Linked DNA regions of Homo sapiens: region 1 is linked to region 2. Evidence: promoter capture Hi-C in human tissues and cell types (Jung and others, 2019). All regions are on one chromosome and are shown on one strand. The core of a region is centred on a gene start or on the middle of the fragment in contact, and the rest is flanking DNA. Distances in the headings are between cores, read along the strand shown. Region 1 holds the start of TLCD2 (TLC domain containing 2). Region 2 overlaps SLC43A2 (solute carrier family 43 member 2).

Evidence for each region. Contacts are between HindIII fragments. The study calls those that stand out against the background at their distance.
Region 1: a contact is called between the fragment with the promoter of TLCD2 here and a fragment that was not itself captured in region 2, in 2 of the 25 tissues and cell types used here (dorsolateral prefrontal cortex and hippocampus).

What each region holds. Positions count from the first base shown.
Region 1 is chr17:1,707,886-1,711,626 of GRCh38, forward strand. TLCD2 (TLC domain containing 2) reads right to left here and starts at 2,492. Exons shown (of 4, transcript NM_001164407.2): 1 at 2,182-2,492; 2 at 1,919-2,001; 3 at 1,614-1,696; 4 at 1-337. The coding sequence starts at 2,357. It overlaps MIR22HG (MIR22 host gene), which reads right to left. Exons shown (of 3, transcript NR_028505.2): 3 at 3,619-3,741. The HindIII fragment of the contact is 13,317 bases long and covers 1-3,741 here.
Region 2 is chr17:1,622,983-1,626,683 of GRCh38, forward strand. All of the region lies in intron 2 of SLC43A2 (solute carrier family 43 member 2), which reads right to left. Among named protein-coding and RNA genes, the nearest start is that of SLC43A2, 4.0 kb to the right of the region's middle. The HindIII fragment of the contact is 4,391 bases long and covers 1-3,527 here.

The DNA.
Region 1 (3,741 bases), core at 1,242-3,741, 86 kb after region 2:
GGACATCATTGACCAGAATACGGATCCCCAATATGATGCTCATGATGCCCACAGTGACCAGCCCAATTCCACCCAGGGTGACCAGAGCAAGAGGAACCTGGTGGTGCTGCCGGAACAGCCACAGACTCATCCACCCCAGCGGGACCAGGCGGAAGAGGGCCAAGGTGGCCAAGGAGGCCCAGCTGGTCACGCTGAAGGCCAGGGATGGGGCCTGGCGAGAAAGCAACAGCAGCTTCCGCAGGTGCAAGCAGGCAGAGTTCAGTTCCAGGAGCAGAGACACCATGGAGAAGCCCACGTAGTGGCCAGACAGAACAGCGGTGCTGAGGCAGCTCACCACCTGGGAGCCAGGGTCACAGGTCAGAGGAACCCCATGACCTGCCAGCCATCATGTCCCAATAACCCAGGCCTGAAGAAAGAGGCTTCCACGCAGTCTGTGGGGCTCCCCAAACACCTGACCTTTATGCTTTTACCTTTATCCTGGGGCCCTGAGCAGCCTTGAAACAACCCTTCCATAGATGGAACCAGGCTTGGCCCAGGGAGGGGCTGTCTCACCCCCTAATACCCCCTTAACCTCCCATTCCTGGGCTTGCTTGCTTTTTTTTTTTTTTTTTTTTTTTTTCGAGACAGACTCTCACTCTGCCACCAGGCTGGAGTGCAGTGGTGTGATCTTGGCTCACTGCAACCTCTGCCTCCTGGGTTCAAGCAATTCTCCTGCCTCAGCTTCCAGAGTAGCTGGGACTACCGGTGCGCGCCACCACACCCAGGTAATTTTTGTATTTTTAGTAGAGACGGGGTTTCACTGTTAGTCAGGATGGTCTCGATCTCCTGACCTCGTGATCCACCCGCCTCGGCCTCCCAGTGTGCTGGGATTATAGGCATAAGCCACCGTGCCTGGCCTAGGGCTTTCATGCCCCATACCCACACCCTATACCAGGACACCCCCTTCTCAGAAAAGCTCCATATTCCACATTTCTGTGATCAGCTGGACACCTGTGGGGGCACCCAAACTCCTTAGGCTCACATGGTGGGTGCCCTGGCATGGTGGGTGCCCTTGTATGGTGAGTGCCCTGGCATGGTAGGTGCCCTGGCCTGGTGGGTATCTGGACTCCCCAGCTGTGGCCAGCAGCCACCTCCTCCCCCTAACTCAGCCTAAGACTGGGAGCCAAGCACCAGCTGGGGGCAGAGACTGTGGGAAATTATAGGACAGCAAAATGAAGAGAGGGCCGGGGGCGGTGGCTCATGCTTGTAATCCCAGCACTTTGGAAGGCTGAAGTGGGCGGATCACCTGAGGTCAGAAGTTCGAGACCAGCCTGGCCAACATGGAGAAACCCCGTCTTTACTAAAAATACAAAAAATTACTTGGGCGTGGTGGCGGGTGCCTGTAATCCCAGCTACGTGGGAGGCTGAGGCAGGAGAATTGCTTGAACCCAGGAGGCGAAGGTTGCAGTGAACAGAGGCCGAACCACTGGACCCCAGCCTGGGTGACAGAGTGAGACTCCGTCTCAAAAAAAAAAAAAAAAAAAAAAAAAAAGAATGAGGAGAGACTGGGAACCTCGGGCTGGACAGGGCTCCCCTCCTCCCTTCCTGTCTGGCTTCTGCCCTCAGAGTCTCACCACCAAATGATGACAGAGAAGATCCCAGGTCTTGCCCAAGGTCTGGTTCCACAGCAGGTCAGCTCCGTCTGCCAGGAAGTAACCTGTGGGCATGGGGGTAGGGGTTAGGCTGCTCCAGAGCCCGGGCAGCTTAGAGAGGATTTCCAGCCCCCCCGCCCCGCCCCTCTCCCAGTTCTTAGTTTTCCCTTGGTAAAGCCTTCAGGAACGTTTAACCCCCATGGGGGCGGGGAATGGACCTGGAAGGACAGCAGAACCTGCCCCCCGCCCCATCCCCACCACCGGCCCAGCCTTCCCTGCAGACTCACCCACAGACACAGCCACCAGCACCAGAGCCCAGCGCGGGTGGCCATGGATGGGGTCGGCGGCCATCTGAGGGTACAGTGACAGGCTGGGGGCATGGGGTGGGGACATGGGGGGGGGCATGGTCAGCCTCTCGAGGCCCCGGCCGCAGTCTCCCTGTGCGCACCCCCACCCCAGTCTCAGCTCTGGAGACGCCCGGCGGGTCTCCCGGCCTCAGCCTCCCACCCCTCGCCCTCGCCCCGTGCGCCTCGAGCCCCCAAGCCCGCACCCGAGCAGCGCCCCGGTCCCCGAGAGCAGGCTGTGCGCCAGGGAGACGCAGAGGTTCCACCACTGCCAGCGGTCCCGAGCGGCCGATTCCGGCGTGGGCAGCCGCCGCAACCCCCAGTGCAGCCCCCGGAACGCGAGGAAGGAGGCGCCGGCCACCAGGAGCCCCGTGGGCGCCATGGCCTGGCGGTTGGGGGGTTGCGGGGAGTCCGGGTCGGTCCCCTCGGCGCCCGCGCTCTCGGCCGGGACTGGGAACCCGTTTCCCGGCAGGGCTGGGGCCCCGGCTCCCCTCCCCGCCGCGCCTTTGGGATCAGCAGGAACTTTTCCCCGTTCGTCCACGCCCAGTCCCTCGCCTGGGCGGTGATTGGAGCAGCCGCGGGGCCGCCGCCCCCGGAGCCTTGGCCACCGATTGCGTCTTGCTCCAGCCGGGGGAGCGGTTCGGGGGCTCCGGGCAGTAGACCATGCCCTGGAGCTCGGGGGGCCTCCGGGATGTTCGCCAATAGGGGTCCTCCCCAGCTCCAAGCGTCCTGAAGCGCTGGAGTTGCAGACCTGGGTCTCCAGTCTAACCTCAACTGACACTCCCGGGCCCCACCCACGAACCTTGACCTCTTCCCGGCTCCCGCGACTTTCACCTGCTGAGCGTCATCACCACCCACCGCCACACCCTGCAAGGCAGAGGCTAGCGCAGCCCACTCGTACCTGCCCGAGCCTGGCCGCCGCCCCCACTTCCCTCCCCGCGTCCGTGGTGGGGACGGGGTGCCCCACTTTCTTGGAGCCACCCCTTCGGCCTCCTGAGGTTTCCACGCCTTTACCATATCCCGGCAAACCTGTAATTCCAGCAGTTCTGCTCCCCCTCCCCCACAACCCCCAGGAGACCCCATGTTGGAGAAGCGACCCACTGGGCCCCGCCCCGACCCCCAGCATTGTTTTCGGCCCTACGGAGGAGCCTCATTAGGAAGAGGACGCAAAAGGGAATCGCTGGCCCCCAGTCTTGAAAAGCACTTCCTTCCCCAAGGGCTTGGTACCCGTTGGGTGGGTAGAATATCTTCAATCCGAGGGCAAGGAAAGGTAACACAGGGTCCCTTCAAGGCTGGGACAGAGTCAGAAGAGAAAAACAGACCTGTCCTGCTCTTAGTAGCAGGGCGGTTAGGATTCCAGAACCCTCCAGCCTTAAGAGGAAGAGCCTCCCCCAGCCCCTCACCACCTGAAGAGCCCCAGGTTGCACTGCTTTCCTTCCACCTTACTCCACTCCACCTCTTCAGCTGGCAGACAGTCAGCAAGTCAGAGCTGTTTCCTGCAGGCTGAGAGGGAGGATTCCAGCTACTTCAAAGAATTAAGTTCATAAACCAAGAGGTGCCCCAACCAAACCTTCTCACCAAAAAGCTGAGGTCTTCCCTTCATTCTTCTACCCCCACCTCTCCAAAGGTTTAAATAATAACACTGATCTCTTAAATTATATTATATGAAATACAAAATGTGGAAAATTTGGAAATTACAGAAAAACCAAAGATGAAAATTACAGTGACTTTGTTCCACCATACAAAGATAACCACTCAACATTTTT
Region 2 (3,701 bases), core at 82-2,581:
GTAATCCCAGCTACTTGGGAGGCTGAGGCAGGAAAATCGCTTTAACCCGAGAGGCAGAGGTTACAGTGAGCCGAGACTGCGCCACTGCACTCCAGCCTGGGCGACAAGAGTGAAACTCCGTTCCCTCCTCCCCATCCCCCAAGAAAAGAGGTCCTCGAGGCAGCAGAGAAATCTCCTGTCCACATCTGCAGCTTCACTCAGCCCGTGGGGATCAAGCCTGGGCCTGCTTCCCCAAGGTGGGCGGCAGCCCCTCTGCCCTTGCAGCGATCTCTGTGCCAGGGCGAGCTCGCAGGGACCTCTGTGCCAGGGTGAGAGGCTCTCTCCCACCACCACAGGTGGAGAAACTGCAGAGGTCAAGAGCATACAACTGGGGTCGGCCTTCATGCCCATGGTCAGACTGTGGGTGACTTCCTCAGGCAGAGGCCGTGATGACTTCTGGTTTCTATGCCACCCAAACATACCAGCATGTGGCAAGCCCTCAGCAATTCACACAAGCCTCTAACAGGGGAATTGGATGGTCGCCCTCCTCTATCTCCCTGGCTTCCTCCTGTCTTGGGAATAAAATTCAGTTTCCCCGAATGGCCTCCCAGTCCCTGCAGCCCCCGCCCCTTCCCACTTCTCTCCTCTCCTCCAGGGTGTACCCTCCTCTCCTCCAGGCTGTACCCTCCTCTCCTCCAGGGCGTACCCTCCTCTCCTCCAGGGCGTATCCTCCTCTCCTCCAGGCTGTACCCTCCTCTCCTCCAGGCTGTACCCTCCTCTCCTCCAGGCTGTACCCTCCTCTCCTCCAGGCTGTACCCTCCTCTCCTCCAGGCTGTACCCTCCTCTCCTCCAGGGTGTACCCTCCTCTCCTCCAGGCTGTACCCTCCTCTCCTCCAGGGTGTACCCTCCTCTCCTCCAGGGTGTACCCTCCTCTCCTGAATCACCCCTCCTCAACCTCCAGGCTTCCACCTGAACCGCAGAGAGGCCCTCCCACCCAGCAGGAGCCACATCTCCGCTGCTGTTCTAGCTCCTGGCGCCCTGCTTTCTTGGGGGCCCGACCACCCCCTGGAATTATACGGGTTACACAGGTATGCGTGTGATGACTTGTTTCCTCTGCACCCAGCACGGCACCTTCGTCAATGTTTACTGAATGTTTAGGTTACAAGAAAGAGGGGATTAACGATCCACATGTAGGCCTGGAGCGGTGGCTCACGCCTATAATCCCAGCAATGTGGGAGCCCGAGGTGGGTGGATCGACTGAGCCCAGGAGTTCAAGACCAGCCTGGGCAACATGGTGAAACCCCTATCTCTACAAAACATTTAAAAATTAACTGGGTATGGTGGCTTACACCTGTAGTCCCAGCACTTTGGGAGGCTGAGGCTGGTGGATCACTTGAGCCCAGGAGTTTTGAGACCAGCCTGAGCAACGTGATGAAACCCTCATCTCTACAAAAAATTTGACCGGGCGTGGTGGCTCACACCTGTAATCCCAGTGCTTTGGGAGGCCAAGGCGGGTGGATCACCTGAGGTCAGGAGTTCGAGACCAGCCAGGCCAACATGGTAAAACCACATCTCTACTAAAAAATACAAAAATTAGCCGGGCGTGGTGGTGGGCACCTGTAATCCCAAAAACAAAAACAAAAAACTAACTGGGTTTGATGGCTCATGCTTGCAGGCCCAGCACTTTGGAAGGCTGAGGCAGGAGGATCGCTTGAGCCCAGGAGTTTGAGACCAGCCTAGGCAACATGGCGAGACCCTGTCTCTACAAAAAATACAAAAATTAGCTGAGTATGGTGGCGCACACTTGTAGTCCCAGCTACTGCTACTCGGGAGGCTGAGGCGGGAGGATTGCTTGAGCCCAGGAGTCAAGGCCGCAGTGAGCTGTGATTGCAACACTACATTCCAGACTGGGCAACAGAGCGAGACCCTGTCTCAAATAAAAAAAAACCATCCACAGGTAGCCGCAGCCCCCCAGGCTGACCCTGACCCTGTTGAAGCGGGGGCCACTGGACAACAGAGAAAACGAAGAAAGAGCTCAGGAGTGGGCCGTCACGTTGCCATCCCAGAGGCCAAGAGGACACAGCTCCAGGAAGCCCCGTGCTTCTCGGGCTGAGAACCCAACTGGTCTCCTGCCCTCACCAGGGGGACGAGGGAGGCATCCAGCAGCCAACACCTGGAGGACGTTGTGCAAAACCCATTGCCAACTTCCCGCACCCAGGTCCCCAAACCCAGCCTGCCACGTCTCCCAGCAGGCAAGGAAGAACAAACTGCGGGGCAGCCGAGAAATGAGCTGTTTCCTTCCTTCTGCCACCTCACCAGGCTGGAACCCAACACGGTGTCTGTGGCGAGATTCTGGCTGGAGTCGTAAGAAAGAGTTCTAAGAACCTTTCAACAGGTTCAGGCAAATTTTCTTTAGAGAACAAACTAAAGCATCGTCCTAGAGTGACACGAAGCTGACAAATTTGCATCTCAATCAGCCGGACACTGCTCAGGCTTTCACAAGTCTAATTCAATAAATTCAAAAATGGCCTATCTGCTTCTCTGCAATTCAGCCATGCACCAAGTTTGAAAATGTTAGACTGAAGCAGAAACCTTCACCCTAACTTCGCCAGGCACTCCCAGACGAGCCAAATGCGGGGATTTCTGGCCTGAAAGAAAACTGGTGATGCAGACTCCAAGAATCAAGGAGCAGTGTGACCAGAGAGATAAGCTGTGTGGAATCAGCAGCCTTCCCGCCCAGAACGTGGGCTCAGCATGTTTGCCAGATAATAAGAAAAACCAAAATTGGAGGCAGGAGCAAAAGTTCGGGATAAGAAGTTGATGTTCAACCCACAATCCTGACCCTTCACCTTCACTTTGGTTTAGTGGAGTTACCTGTCAAGTCTGCCCAGGGCTTAAAACACCAACTCAGCACTGCGCTGGCACAATCTCTGGGACTCCTCCCACTTAGACAGAGGAGGAAGCTGAGGTTGAGGCAGGAATGAAAGGACCAGACCCAATTCTGCCAAAACCATACAATCAATTAAATCCGTGGACATTCTATTAAAAAAAAACAAAAAACAAAAAACAAACAAAAAACACCTAGAATCTGACCTTCCGACATCATGGTGGGTTAAAAAAAAAACACACAAAAAAACACCTGCCCACAACAGTTCTCTGGTCTGGGTGAGACACTAAAAGCTTTCTCTGGGGACGATGACTTTTTTTCTGCTTTTTTTTTTTTTTTTTAAACCCTGTGTCCAGCCTGAAAGAGCCCACCAGGGAGGCAAGCAGGAAGGGTCACGATCTCTAAGGGGGGAGAGAGGAAAGGAGAGGAAGAAGTAAACACTCCAACCTGTGCCTTTCGGGGACAGGCATTAATCTCCTAACAACTCTTGGCCAAAGCAGAAAGCTTGTTCAGGGAACAAGGTCTGACTCTTCCCAACTCCCAAGATTTCTTGCTGATGTGGGGAAAGACCTGCCAAGAACCCTTAGGCTATTAGGAAATATTTTTGAGTGGCTAAAGGCTAAAGGTTAGTTATAAATGATATACTTTCTGTCCTCTCCCCGCGGCCTCTGCATTCTCCTGCTTTCTCCTGCCCTGAACCTCTCCAGCTAAGCCTCCCTCCCTAGAGACTGGGACACACAGGAATCTCCGGGGCAGATCAGAGAAGGGAAACAGGGAGGCTTCCACAAAGGATTACACCCAGCATGAGCTGGTCCAAAGCTTTCTCTTCCTGCAA